2 separate regions of the Homo sapiens genome follow, and region 1 is linked to region 2. Evidence: promoter capture Hi-C in human tissues and cell types (Jung and others, 2019). All regions are on one chromosome and are shown on one strand. The core of a region is centred on a gene start or on the middle of the fragment in contact, and the rest is flanking DNA. Distances in the headings are between cores, read along the strand shown. Region 1 holds the start of MIR545 (microRNA 545). Region 2 holds the start of CHIC1 (cysteine rich hydrophobic domain 1).

The links. The method cuts DNA at HindIII sites, captures the fragments that hold promoters and counts their contacts. A contact is called where the count stands out against the background at its distance.
Region 1: a fragment that was not itself captured here is called in contact with the fragment with the promoter of CHIC1 in region 2 in 1 of the 25 tissues and cell types used here (hippocampus).

The regions. Positions count from the first base shown.
Region 1 is chrX:74,284,741-74,291,070 of GRCh38, reverse strand. All of the region lies in intron 1 of FTX (FTX transcript, XIST regulator), which reads left to right. It overlaps MIR545 (microRNA 545), which reads left to right and starts at 3,862; the gene lies at 3,862-3,967. MIR374A (microRNA 374a) reads left to right here and starts at 3,714; the gene lies at 3,714-3,785. LOC124905199 (a long non-coding RNA gene) reads left to right here. Exons shown (of 2, transcript XR_007068266.1): 2 at 641-3,206. RefSeq lists an enhancer at 1-616. The HindIII fragment of the contact is 4,959 bases long and covers 585-5,543 here.
Region 2 is chrX:73,559,092-73,565,115 of GRCh38, reverse strand. CHIC1 (cysteine rich hydrophobic domain 1) reads right to left here and starts at 1,919. Exons shown (of 6, transcript NM_001039840.4): 1 at 1,536-1,919. The coding sequence starts at 1,831. It also overlaps the pseudogene MAP2K4P1. RefSeq lists a silencer at 1,940-1,999. The HindIII fragment of the contact is 8,688 bases long and covers 1-6,024 here.

The sequences.
Region 1 (6,330 bases), core at 1,815-4,314, 720 kb before region 2:
GTACTCTCGACAATCTTACGAAACACAGTACTGTTATTAAGTTTATACAAATGAGAAATTTGAGGGACACGAGACTAATTTGTTCAAGGCTTTACAGCCAGTTGAATGGCTGAGACTGGGTTTTTATCCAGGTGGGATGGCTCCAGAAGCATGTGCTTTTAAGCATTATGCTTTATTCCCTAAAAAGAGGGGGCGAATTTAAAGGAACCTTCTTTTATGATTTCAAAATTTGTTTGTAACTAACCAAAACCATTTGAGAAAGAAGACCTGTTTTCTGTTTCTGACTGTGCAGACTACAGGGTTACATACCTAGGAGACAAAAGATAAAGAATTGTTGATTTGGTGCCTAGTGGGGTGGCTATCCTTAACTACCCTTGTTTTCTGTGCTTTTTGTTCTGCAGAGGGTCTAAAATGGCCGACTGCGGCAGGCTGGACACACCCTTCTTGTTTTGCCTGATTTTCTGTCTGATCTAATGCTTTGAGACATCTAACCAGTCATTTACTGCAGTAGTTTTTTTTTTAACCCATTATTAGTATTTCGTGTTGATCTAAATATACAATAGTGATGGAAAGGTTATTGTCTTTTTTCTTGTAATAAAAGACTGAAAATACATTTGTTTTATTTTTATTATTTGCTTAGGATACATTCGTGGAAGTGGAGTTAGTACATCAAAGGGTATGAACATTTTAAACTCTCAGTATCTATTGCCAAATTTCTTCCTAAAAAGGTTGTATCAATTTTTACTCATACAAGCGCTGAATGTTGTTGTTTTTTAATTTTTAATGGATAAAAACCAGTATTAATTTTTCGTTTGCCTATTAGTTTGGATTTTCTTCCTCCATATATATCTCAGCAGTTTTCTTTCATGTAATGATAGTTCATATCTTATGTTGATTTATGCGTTGAAGTTTTAGTTTACTGTTTATTATTATCTGTTTGTGTTCTGTAAATAAAGATTAGTATTCAGACTTTTGTAATGTTATAAATACCTACTCCATGTTATTGTTTGCCTCTTAATTTTTGTCTTTAAATTTTTGGCTAGTAGAGATTTGAAATTATTTGACAAATTTATCTTCTATTTTGTGATTTTTATTCTATTGTTTAAATTTGAATAGCTCCCTCAGTCTAGAAATTTGGTAAATATTGTAACTTTGCCTGAGGGTAACTATCAAGCATGGGAGAAAAAACATCCATGATTTTACCACCCAGAGATAACTATTGTTAATACATTTATTCACTTCATTCTCTGCATTTTTCTTTGCAGTTGATAATATATGTGTACTATTTTATATTGTGTTTTGTTTTTAACATTATAACATGCGCATGTCCATGTTAAACATTCTTTGTAATTGTCATTGTTTCATGATGTTCTGTTGTATGGAAGTATTTTACAGATTTTCAGTATTTTAAATTATGTAATGAATATCTTTTCATTTGGTTTTTATTATTTATTTTGGGTTGTTTATCGAAGAGACTTCTAGAATTAGTTATTTGTCAAAAGATTTGAACATTATAAAGAATTGGCATATTTACTTTTCAAAAAATTAATGTCAGTTTTTGTACCCAGTCATTTAGGTACTTATAAAAAATGTTTTTGCTTTTTTTTTTTTTGCTGACTCCATATGTAAATGAATGAATGATATCTCTGTGGGGTTTTTTTGTTTTTGTTTTTTTCTGAGACAGGCTCTCCCCCTGTCGCCTAGGCTGGAGTACAGTGGCGTGATCATGGCTCACTGAAGCCTCAACTTCCAGGGCTCCAGAGATCCTCCTACCTCAGCCTCCTGAGTAGCGGGAGTACAGGTGTGTGCCACCATGTCCAGCTAATTTTTAAATTTTTTTGTAGAGATGGAGTTTTGCCATGTTGCTCAGGCTTGTCTTGAACTCCTGGGCTCAAGTGATTTTCCCACCCCGGCTTCCCAAAATGCTGGGATTACAGGGGTGAGCCACCATACCTGGCCGATATCTTTGTTTTGTGATACAGTTCTCTGATTATTAGTGAGGCTGGACTTTTAGATCTTAATTACTAGCTCTTATTTCCTTTTGTGAATTATTCAATTTGTGCCTGAATGTTATTTGTAAGTTGCAAATGTCGTTTGTTGCAGATATGCTCCCAGTAATATTTGTTGCCATTGAGTCTGAAGAAATGTTTGCAATTCCAAATATAACTGCTGTGTGGATACATGTCTGGTTCTTGGTAGCCATTTTGAGATAACATTTGTCTGACCTCTATCTTATTTTTGTTTTTATTTTTAGAGTGGAGGTCTTGCCCAGGCTGGTCTCGAACTCCTGGGCTCAAGCAATCTTTCTGCCTCCGCCTCCCAAAGTGCTGGGATTACAGGCATAAGCCACCTTACCCAGCCTTGTCTGACCTTTAAACAGAAATCCATTTCTTTTTATCTAAAAGGAAAGCACTTTTGAGTACTGTACAACAGTGGTGCTTCCTGGCTCTGGGCATGGGGAGAAGACAGGGCAACATTTTGTCCCTAATGAGAAACTAATTTAGACAAGAAACAAAACAGCGGTCCCTTCTCCCCCATCCATTCAGGGACTGGTCTTATTTTAAATATTTCTGAGTGGTCTGAGGGAGGATATGGGCAATATTGAAGTGTCCACATTTATACATACTGTTAAATGCTTTGGGGATGTGAAATGCTAATAGGAACACGCTAGCATGTGAGAAGGCACCAGGAGTGGGCTAATTGGCAGAAAGGAACAGTGTATAGGCAAGAGCAGTGAAATAACTTTAGGGGAAAATAGTATGTTAAGCTTATTAAATAACAGCCTCATAGAGACATTGGGTCCCAAAACAGTGATCTCAGTATAACTGTCAACAACTTGCTGATGTTATCAGCCCTATTTGCTGGTCAGAGACAAAAAAGCCAGTAAAAACCTAGGTATTATTAAGAAAGGTATGAGGCACAGAAAAATGCCATCTTATCTTTGTATAAAACCATCTGAACCAAATAACTATTACAGTAATAATCTTGCCTCAAGGAGTCTGTTACTATCACTCACATGATTTTGAAAAGGGAGTGGGCAGAGTGTGTTATCTCTCTGTTTCATTTTTCTTGTTTATAATACATAGGTGAATTAGATATTCTCAAAGGTCTTGGAGGGGTCTAATTCTGGTTTCCTGAAACTGAATGTTATTTCTAGTTTAGAGAATCTGTTTAATTATGTTTATTAAATAAACTTTTCTAACTTATTCCTACTCTGATCTGTATATTATCTATTTTGTATTTAATAACATTCTAACTTTTTTTTTCCAGTGAAGGATGAGGATTATTGGATTTAGAAGTGCCAAATGAGCTATTACTTACTGCTTTTTGCTATCCGGTTACACTGGGTTAATCCAGTTAGTTGTAAGCTCCCATTTTTCAGCATTTTGCTAGCTGTAGATATTAAACCAGGCTCATGTGGGTAGTAGGGTGGGGAGGTTAAGAGGAGTATAAGCAAAAAGGAAAAAAAAAAGCTCATATTTTAGAGGAGGGGATTGAGAAGTTCCTTTATTGGAAGTCTGTGCATGGAAGTCCCATTTTACATCATGCCAGTGTCTAGTTCCCAATTCCGTCTATGGCCACGGGTTAGGGAAAGCCTGAATATTTGAAATAACCGAAAAGCATTTAACCTTTGATTTCTATAATTTGTTCCTCACCTCTCTTGATGTTACAGCCAGCAGCAGCCTGGAGCAGCACCCCCTGGGAAGAAATTTTACATCGGCCATTATAATACAACCTGATAAGTGTTATAGCACTTATCAGATTGTATTGTAATTGTCTGTGTATATGCCTGTCTCTCTTCCTGTTATCAGTTAGACTGTGAGCTCCTTGAGGGCAAGGAAGGTGTCTTCATCTCCAGAGCCCAGCCTGGCACATTAGTAGGCCTCAGTAAATGTTTATTAGATGAATAAATGAATGACTCATCAGCAAACATTTATTGTGTGCCTGCTAAAGTGAGCTCCACAGGCTCTGGATTGTCAGCTGTTTCTTCAAAAAGCATGTGGTCAGAAATTTGATATTTCTGTATATATCTTCCTAAGAGTTTCTCATGAGACAATGCCATTTTTGTGTTTGGATTTCAGTCCTTGATATTTACAGATGTTGCAACTGTTGCTATTGCTGACACTTGCTTTCTTGGTGGGACTTGAGTGATAACTGTTAGATTGGGGCCTCATCCTCAGGGCCCAGGTAATCATCCAAATAGTATTCTTAGATAGGACTTTGCATTTTTCTTTCTTTTTTTTTTTTTTTTAAGGGACAGGTTCTCACTCTGTTGCCCAGGCTGGAGTGCAATGGTGCGAACACGGGTCACTGCAGCCTCGAACTCCTAGGCTCAGGTGATCTTCCACCTCAGCATTCTGAGTTAGGACTATAGGTGTGTGCCACCACCCCTGGCTAATGTTTGTATTTTTCGTAGAGAAGGGGTCTCGTTATGGTGCCCAGGCTGTTCTTGAACTCCTGGACTCAAGCGATCTACCTCCCTCAGCCTCCCAGAGTGCTGGGATTACAGGTGTGAGCCACTGCACCCAACCAGACTCCATATTCTAAACCAAGGGTGGGCAAACTTTATTGCCCATGGGCTACCTGTTTTTGTAAATACCATTCTATATTGGAACACAGCCATGTTCATTCATCGATGTTTTACCTGGGGCCGCTTTTGCGGCCCAGTGGCACAATTAAGTAGCTATTAGGTTGGTGCAAAAGTAGTTGCTGTTTTTGCCATTAAATATATTGGAGACATTGTGGCCCACAAAGCCTTTGTAGAAAAAGATCTGTGCCCACTCTGGATCATCACTCGACAGTGATGGTTTCATTTCTCATTCCATTCACCAGACCAGAAATTCATATTTATTTACTTCATTTGTCATTGCTTGTGACAAGTCTTTTTCCTCTTTTACAGATAAGCCAGCTAAGACATGTTTTAAAGTAGAAGATTATAAGACCTCCCCCAGGGTCCTGCAGTCAGTCAGTTATACCCTGCCCTTCAACATCAAGCTTTGAACCTCTACTCTAGAAATACCTTTTATTATATTCAAACTTGAAGCACGTGGACATAGCATGCTTTGGTGCCTTCGTCCTTGCCCCCCTCCTTCCTACACAGTTCTTTGCAATGAGAATATGGGAAATAAGGACTTAATGTGAGATAAGGCAGAAAGGTAAGCTGAGGCAAATGTTTAGAGGGTCCCTAACACTAATTTTTAAATGAAGAAGTGGGGTGTCTGAAATACTCATTTATTTAGATGTATACAGATAGTGAGCCTAGACTTCCAAGAGCTTAGAGCCCCTCCCCTTGTGCCTCCCCAACTTTACATGTACTATCTTGGTAACCTGCCTATGAATACATGTTGATTCATTTCACTTCATTAAAAAGTCGGAGAGCTCAAAGTCATATTTGAGAAAGCTAAATCTAAAACAAAATGGAGGAAACACTGAATAGGTTCATCTCGTTGGATAGGATCATCCTAGGAATAAAATATAATAGAAGGAAAGGTCTTACAGCCATATTTTTAAAGCTGCTTGCTGGATTTTTCCCAAAATTGTATTGTGAAAGTTGTCAAACATACATACAGAAAAGTTGAAAGAATTGTACGGTGAAAAGCCATGTACCCAACACCTAGATTTTATAATTAACATTTAACTATACAGTCATGTGTTGCTTAAAGACAGGATATGTTCTGAGTAATGGATCATTAAGTCATTTTGTTGTTGTGTGAACATCATAGGGGAGTGTACTTATACAAACCTAGATGGTATAGCTTACTACACACCTAGGCTATATGGTATAGCCTATTCCTCCTAGGCTACAAACCTGTACAGCATGTTGCTGTATTGAATACTGTAGGCATTTGGAATACAGTGGTAAGTATTTGTATATCCAAACATATCTAACATAGAAAAGGTACAGTAAAAACGTGGTGTTATTATCTTATGGGACCACCATTGTATATGCGCCTGTGACTGAAATGTTACTATAAGATTCAGGACTGTTTGTGTTATCACAGTAACTCATCTTTGTTGAATAGGTTTTAAAAATCTGTCTGTCTTCTGTGTTAATGTCATCTGTATCTGACCCATCATGGTGCTGAAAAAGCTTCTTTTCATTCTTATTTTTGTCTTCTAAGTCAGCATGAATACCAGCACAGCCCAACTATGTGTAAGCAGATCTGTGCAGGAATGAGAGTCCCAGGGAGAGAATCCACGTTGTTTCTGAAAGAAAATGGCTATAGCTCACTGTTGTTTACTGGAAATAGTAGGGGGAAGGAAAGATGGAAGTCCAGGTCCAGTGTCATATACTGCCCTGCACCTTACTCACTTCTCTGCCTTTAGGGT
Region 2 (6,024 bases), core at 670-3,169:
TATTGTAGGCTATCTGCAAAATTCTTGGACCAAGAAAAATTGTCTTAAAATTTCCTAATCAAAAAGCAGCTCTAAAACCCTCCCCCAACACTTCCCCAATTTCAAAATATTTGTTAATATATTTGATGCAAAGATTACGAAAGTATATTACAATTAAAATACTCAACATATCACGCCTGTAGTCCCAGCTACTCAGGAGGCTGAGGCAGGAGAATTGCTTGAACCTGGGAGGCAGAGGCTGCAGTGAGCCAAGATTGCGCCACTGCACTCCAGCCTGGGCAAAAGAGTGAGACTCTGTCTCAAAAAAAAAAAAAAAAAAAAAAACTCAACATGTTAAAAATTGAAGCTAATATAAGGGAGGTAGCATATATATGATTTAATGTAACATGAACTCAATTGAAAGTCAAAGGGACTAGGTGAGCCATTATCAAAACCAGAGGCAGCATGACATAACAACAAAAGGCAACCTATTTTGAAAATGCAGTAAAAGATAGCATAGTTCAGAGGATGAACATGACACAGTACTCAAACTTCCAAATAGTTATGGTCCAAGCAAATAAAAATGAGGAAGCACTCTTTAAATCCCGGAGAATCATCAACATTTTTGCCTTGTAGCTGTTATGAAGTCCCTCCCCATTTTATTTTCTGAAATATTCAATTTTTCCTCAAGATTTCAATTTTTTAAAAAACCACCCTGGATAAATTTTAAAGAAATTATGCTCAGCTCCCAAAGTATTAATTTCCATATATATTTAATGCCTGTATATTTCATACTTGGGCATACAAAATCCCTTGGAGGTAAATTATCTCAGAACTGAAAAGCTTTAGAAACCATCTACTCCAAACCCTTCATTTTAGAGATGAAGAAATCAAGGCGCAGAAATGAGAAAAAGCAACCTGACCAAGGTCACAGGGCCAGTAAGAAGCAAAACCGGGACCAGCGTCTAAGAGCCCTGACTCAATCCATTTCTTTTTCTACTTTCCATAGCTGCCTCTCATCCTGAACCTCTAATCGAGTGATATATAAGGAAGGATTCGATAGGAAGAATGGATGGATGAATACGTGGGTGAATGAACATTCTATTATTATTCACAAAATATATCATGTTTCTGTTTTGAAGAATGCAAGCCTAGTTCTTGTCACATGTCACAGCAATTGCTGTTTCCCACAAAGTATCAATCTTGTCAGCAAAAAACCCTCTGGTACATCCTGCAGTTTAGAGACTGTTCACTTGCCAGCATACATACAAGAAAGGAGACTCACCCCTACTCCAATCGCTCTGGCTCCCAAACCCCTAACTTCCCTCTCCTATACTCACTCTTTACCTGGCATTGGTGCATCATATTTACATTCTCCTCACTTCCTTCACACGTATCCACCCATGGTTTCCCCATTTAGACCAGGTGTCCTTTCCTAAGTGTACGCCTCAGTCAATCAGTCAACCCTCCCCCACTCCACAGGCCCCTCGATCACTTCTCATTCCTCTGTTGCCAAATCTCAGGCATTTCAAGTCCCAAGACCCCCTCTCGCTTACACAGTGATGTGGCCGGCACCCCGCACTAATACAGGGTCGGGAGCATATCTCCGCAGATGCTCCTCGCTCACTACCCGAGGCGGGGGCGGCGCTTCCTCCTCCTCTTCCTCCTCCTCCTCTTCTTCCTCCTCCTCCTCTTCCTCCTCTTCCTCCTCATCCTCCTCGTCATCGTCGGGCCCAGATACCGACGACGACGACGACGGCGACGACGACGACGTTGCCGCTTCTTCTTCCTCCTCCTCCTCCAGTTCCGAGATGGTGTCGAACTCCGCCATGTTGGGCAGCAGGATGCTCATCACGTGACCTCGCGATCGCCGCCACGCTCCCGGAGAAGAGTTTGAACCTGCCGAGGTGCTGCAAGAGGAGGGGGAACGAAATGAAGAGAAAGAGGAGGGGTGTAGGGACAGGATTTGAGGAGACGCGCCTGCGTGTTGGGCAGACGGGGGGGTGGGGGGGCGGCTGCTGGAGGCGGGGGCACTAGAGAGGAGCAAAGTCAGTGTACGCTTGCGCAGCTCCAAGGGGAGGGGGCCGCTAGAGGTGAACTCCAAGGAGTTATCCAGGTCCGGTCTGCGGGTGCTCGCCTTAATACTGCTCTCTGAGCGTCAGCTACTTGTATTCGGGGTATCTTCTGATTTTATTGCTTATTAATTAATGCTGGGCATTATTAACCCAACTGCAGGCGGGTGAGAGAAAGCATATTGTATAAAAGTAAGGTTAGAACTTTGTCCAAAATATCTCAAGGTATATACCAATCCCTTACGTTTGTTCAGCATTACAGTTTAAAAGCCTTGCGTCATAACTTTGCCACAATCTTGGGAGGCAGGGTAAGCACTTTTATTAGCATTTTACTTAAGAGGAAACTTTTTACTACTTCTCCTATGTAATACTTAACGGAGGACTTATTAACTCAGGGACTGTGCTAAGTGCTCTGTATGTATATCTCATTTAATCCTCTGCAACCCTATGAGGTATGTATCATGATGATTTTATATTACAGATGGGAAATCTAGGTGCAGAGAAAATAAGTAATTTGTCCAGTGTCAGGGAGCTACTAAATGGGAGACCTGGTTTTAAATTTGGTGGTCTCTTCTGATTCCAGAAGCCCAGTACTCTTAACCAAAGGGCTGTACTGCCTGAAGTTGTTTGGAAAGATTTTGTAGAATGGTGCCTCTTGGGCTCTTCCTTAAAAGATGAATCAGAATATGCATGTTTGAATTTTGGAGTGTTTTTTGGGGGAGGGGGCGGATGGAGGGGGTGAAAGGAGCATTCCAACCTAAGGAAACCTTAATTAACATCATCCATTTTCCAGACACTGAGCTAGACCCTCACATACAATATTTCAGTTAACCCTTAATCCTGAGAGGTAAGTATCATTATATCTATTTTATTACATGACAAAAGTGGGTCTCAGAAGTTTAAGTAATTTATTCAAGTCTATGGTGACCTTTTGTTCAAAATTTTCCATTTTAAATGGTCTATCCTATCTTCTTTACACTCACTAAAATGTTGTGGGGATCACATATTTTGCGTATCTAAATAGTGTGCCAAACTGTTTCATACTTGGCAGCAGCACAAAAATCCATATCATTAAGACAGTAAAGTCACACAGCTGCTAAGTAACAGAACAAACACTGTAATCCAGGCATTCTAATACCAGCTTCACTGCTCTTTCTGCTACTCTACGGCTGCATCCCAATCAGATGGTGTGTCTCTGGGGAAACAGACATAGTCAAACTTTAATTTAGGATGAGCACGACATTATCAGTATAAACAAAGCATTTAATGTGTGTGAAGTAGGAAGAAATTAGTTCTGTAAGAGAAATGAATCAAACCATTATCATCAAGGAGTATGTGTTATTAAAATGAAAAGCCCATTTTTATTCAAAAGTTGGTTTATTTAGGGAACTTTAAAAATAAGTCGGAGATCGAGACCATCCTGGCTAACAAGGTGAAACCCCGTCTCTACTAAAAATACAAAAAAAATTAGCCGGGCGCGGTGGCGGGCGCCTGTAGTCCCAGCTACTCGGGAGGCTGAGGCAGGAGAATGGCGTGAACCCGGGAAGCGGAGCTTGCAGTGAGCCGAGATTGCGCCACTGCAGTCCGCAGTCCCGCCTGGGCGACAGAGCGAGACTCCGTCTCAAAAAAAAAAAAAAAAAAGTCATAACATTATCAATAAGCAACAAATTATAACTTTTTGTAGTTTAGATAACTGTATCTACTAGCCAGGAATTATAGAAGATAGAACCTTAAAATATTTTGTATAGCCTTCTGGCAAGACATATATATCTTTGCTTTTTTGGGGTGTTAATAAATGTGTCAGAGTTAAGATCAAAATTAATACTTTGCAACAGTTCTTCTCTTTCAAGAGGCAAAAAAAAAAAACTGTAAATGACATTTAAAATTTTTCCAAATATCTTATCCACGAAGGTCCACTAAGTCTGTGTCTAGAGGGAAAAGTATTTCACTGACTACTGCTTAAATGGTAGTTTCTCCTCACACTCAAGATTAGGCTAGGAAAGGCTATTTGAAGTACAGGAAGGGAAAGGAGTAGGGGGTGGACTTTGTAATGAGTGCAAGTAAGATATTGGAACTATGGTAAAAGTGGAGAAATTATGGCCTTGAAGAATGAGAAGGAAGGAAAGGGATGGGGAAAATCTGTTAAAATAGAAAGAGGCCCCTCATGTTTAGTCAGATGTCAAAAAGACCAAACATTCAGGGAAGTGCTATACTTGGCTAAACACACAAGTGTAGTCAAATCTGTCCATCTGTTTTCTGGCTTATATGTTGTGATTAAAAGTCATATGTGATTCCAAAGGTAATTTGTTTTGCTTAAATATAGGAGAATTTGGAATTAAGCAAGCTGAAGAAAAATACATTTTGTTTATCTATTGTCAGTAAACACGAGTAACACCATGGTTTCTAAATGATACCTTAGTATTAAGAATAGTAAATCGAGGAGTAGATGGAGAAGAAAGCAGGTCATGTAACATTATGCCTAACTTGCTAAGTGGGGTATGGGGGTATTTCTCCCATATAATTAATAGAGACCTGAGGCATGAGATCATTAACCATCTGAGAGGGTTTCAACCTTAAACAGCTGAAAAGAATTGTAACCTTTTAAAGACAGCTTTATTTTATTTATTTATTAAAGCATTCAATTTATTGATTTTAGTCACAGTTGTGCAACTGTCACTACAAACTAAAACATTTACATCATCCCCAAAAGAAATCTCTGTCCCATTTTTCAGCCATTCCCCATTCATCCCCAACACTTGGTAAGCATTAATCTACCTTCTTTTCTACAGATTTGTTTAATGGACATTTAAATAAATGGGATCATACACTGTGTGCTCTTTGTGTCTAGCTTCTTTCACGTAGCATATAATGTTTTTGTGGTTCATCAATGTTGTTTCATGTATCAGTACTTTATTCCTTTTAATTGATGAATAACATTCCATTGTTGGGATAAATTGCATTTTGTTTATCCACTTACCAGTTGATGACATATGGGTTGCTGCCACATTTTGAATGTTATGAAAATGCCGCTACGAACATTTACACACATGCTTCTGTTTGAACATAGGTTTTAATTTCTCTTGGATAGATAACCTATGAGTGGAATTCCTGAGTCATATGCTAAGATGATGTTGAACTTATTAAGAAACTGCCAAGCTATTTTTCCAAAGAGACTTCATCAATTTACATTCCCACAAGCAATGCAGGAGAGCTTCACTTTTTTCACATCCTCTCCAACACTTGTTATTGTCTTTTTTATTATAACTATTCTTATGGGTGTGCATCATGGTTTTACTTTGCATTTCCCTAATGACTAGCGATGAACATCTTTTCATGTACCTGTTGTCTGTTTGTATAGCTTCTGTGATGAAATGTCTACCCAAATCTTTAGCCCCATTTTAAAATAAAGCTCTTTTTGAAATACTTGTAGATTCATATGTAGGTGTAAAAAATAATACAGAGAGATCCTGTTTACACTTTACTTAGTATCCCCCAATAGCAACATCTTGCATAACTATTGTTATGCAGATTTAACAACCGCAAAATTGACATTGATACAATCCATCTGTTTTATTCAGATTTTCCATCATAGATGTACTCATTTGTGTCTGTGTGTGTGTCCATTTAGCTCTGTGCAATTTTATCAGAGGTATAGGTTCTTATGACCATCACTACAGTCGATACAGAACAATTACATCACCATAAGGATCCCTCCTGTTATATTTTCATAATACTTCTTACCCTCCTCCTTACATTATGTAAATTGTGTTATACTATATGTAATTTTGGGGGCTTAGATTTTTTTCACTCAGCATACTTACACTGAGAATCATCCAAGTTATTGTGTGTATCAGTGGTTATTTTTATTGCTGTGTAATATTCCACAGTATAGATTTACCACAATTTGTTTAGCTATTCACCCACTAAAAGGCATGTGTTGTTTTCAGGCTTCAGATGTTATGAATAAACTGCT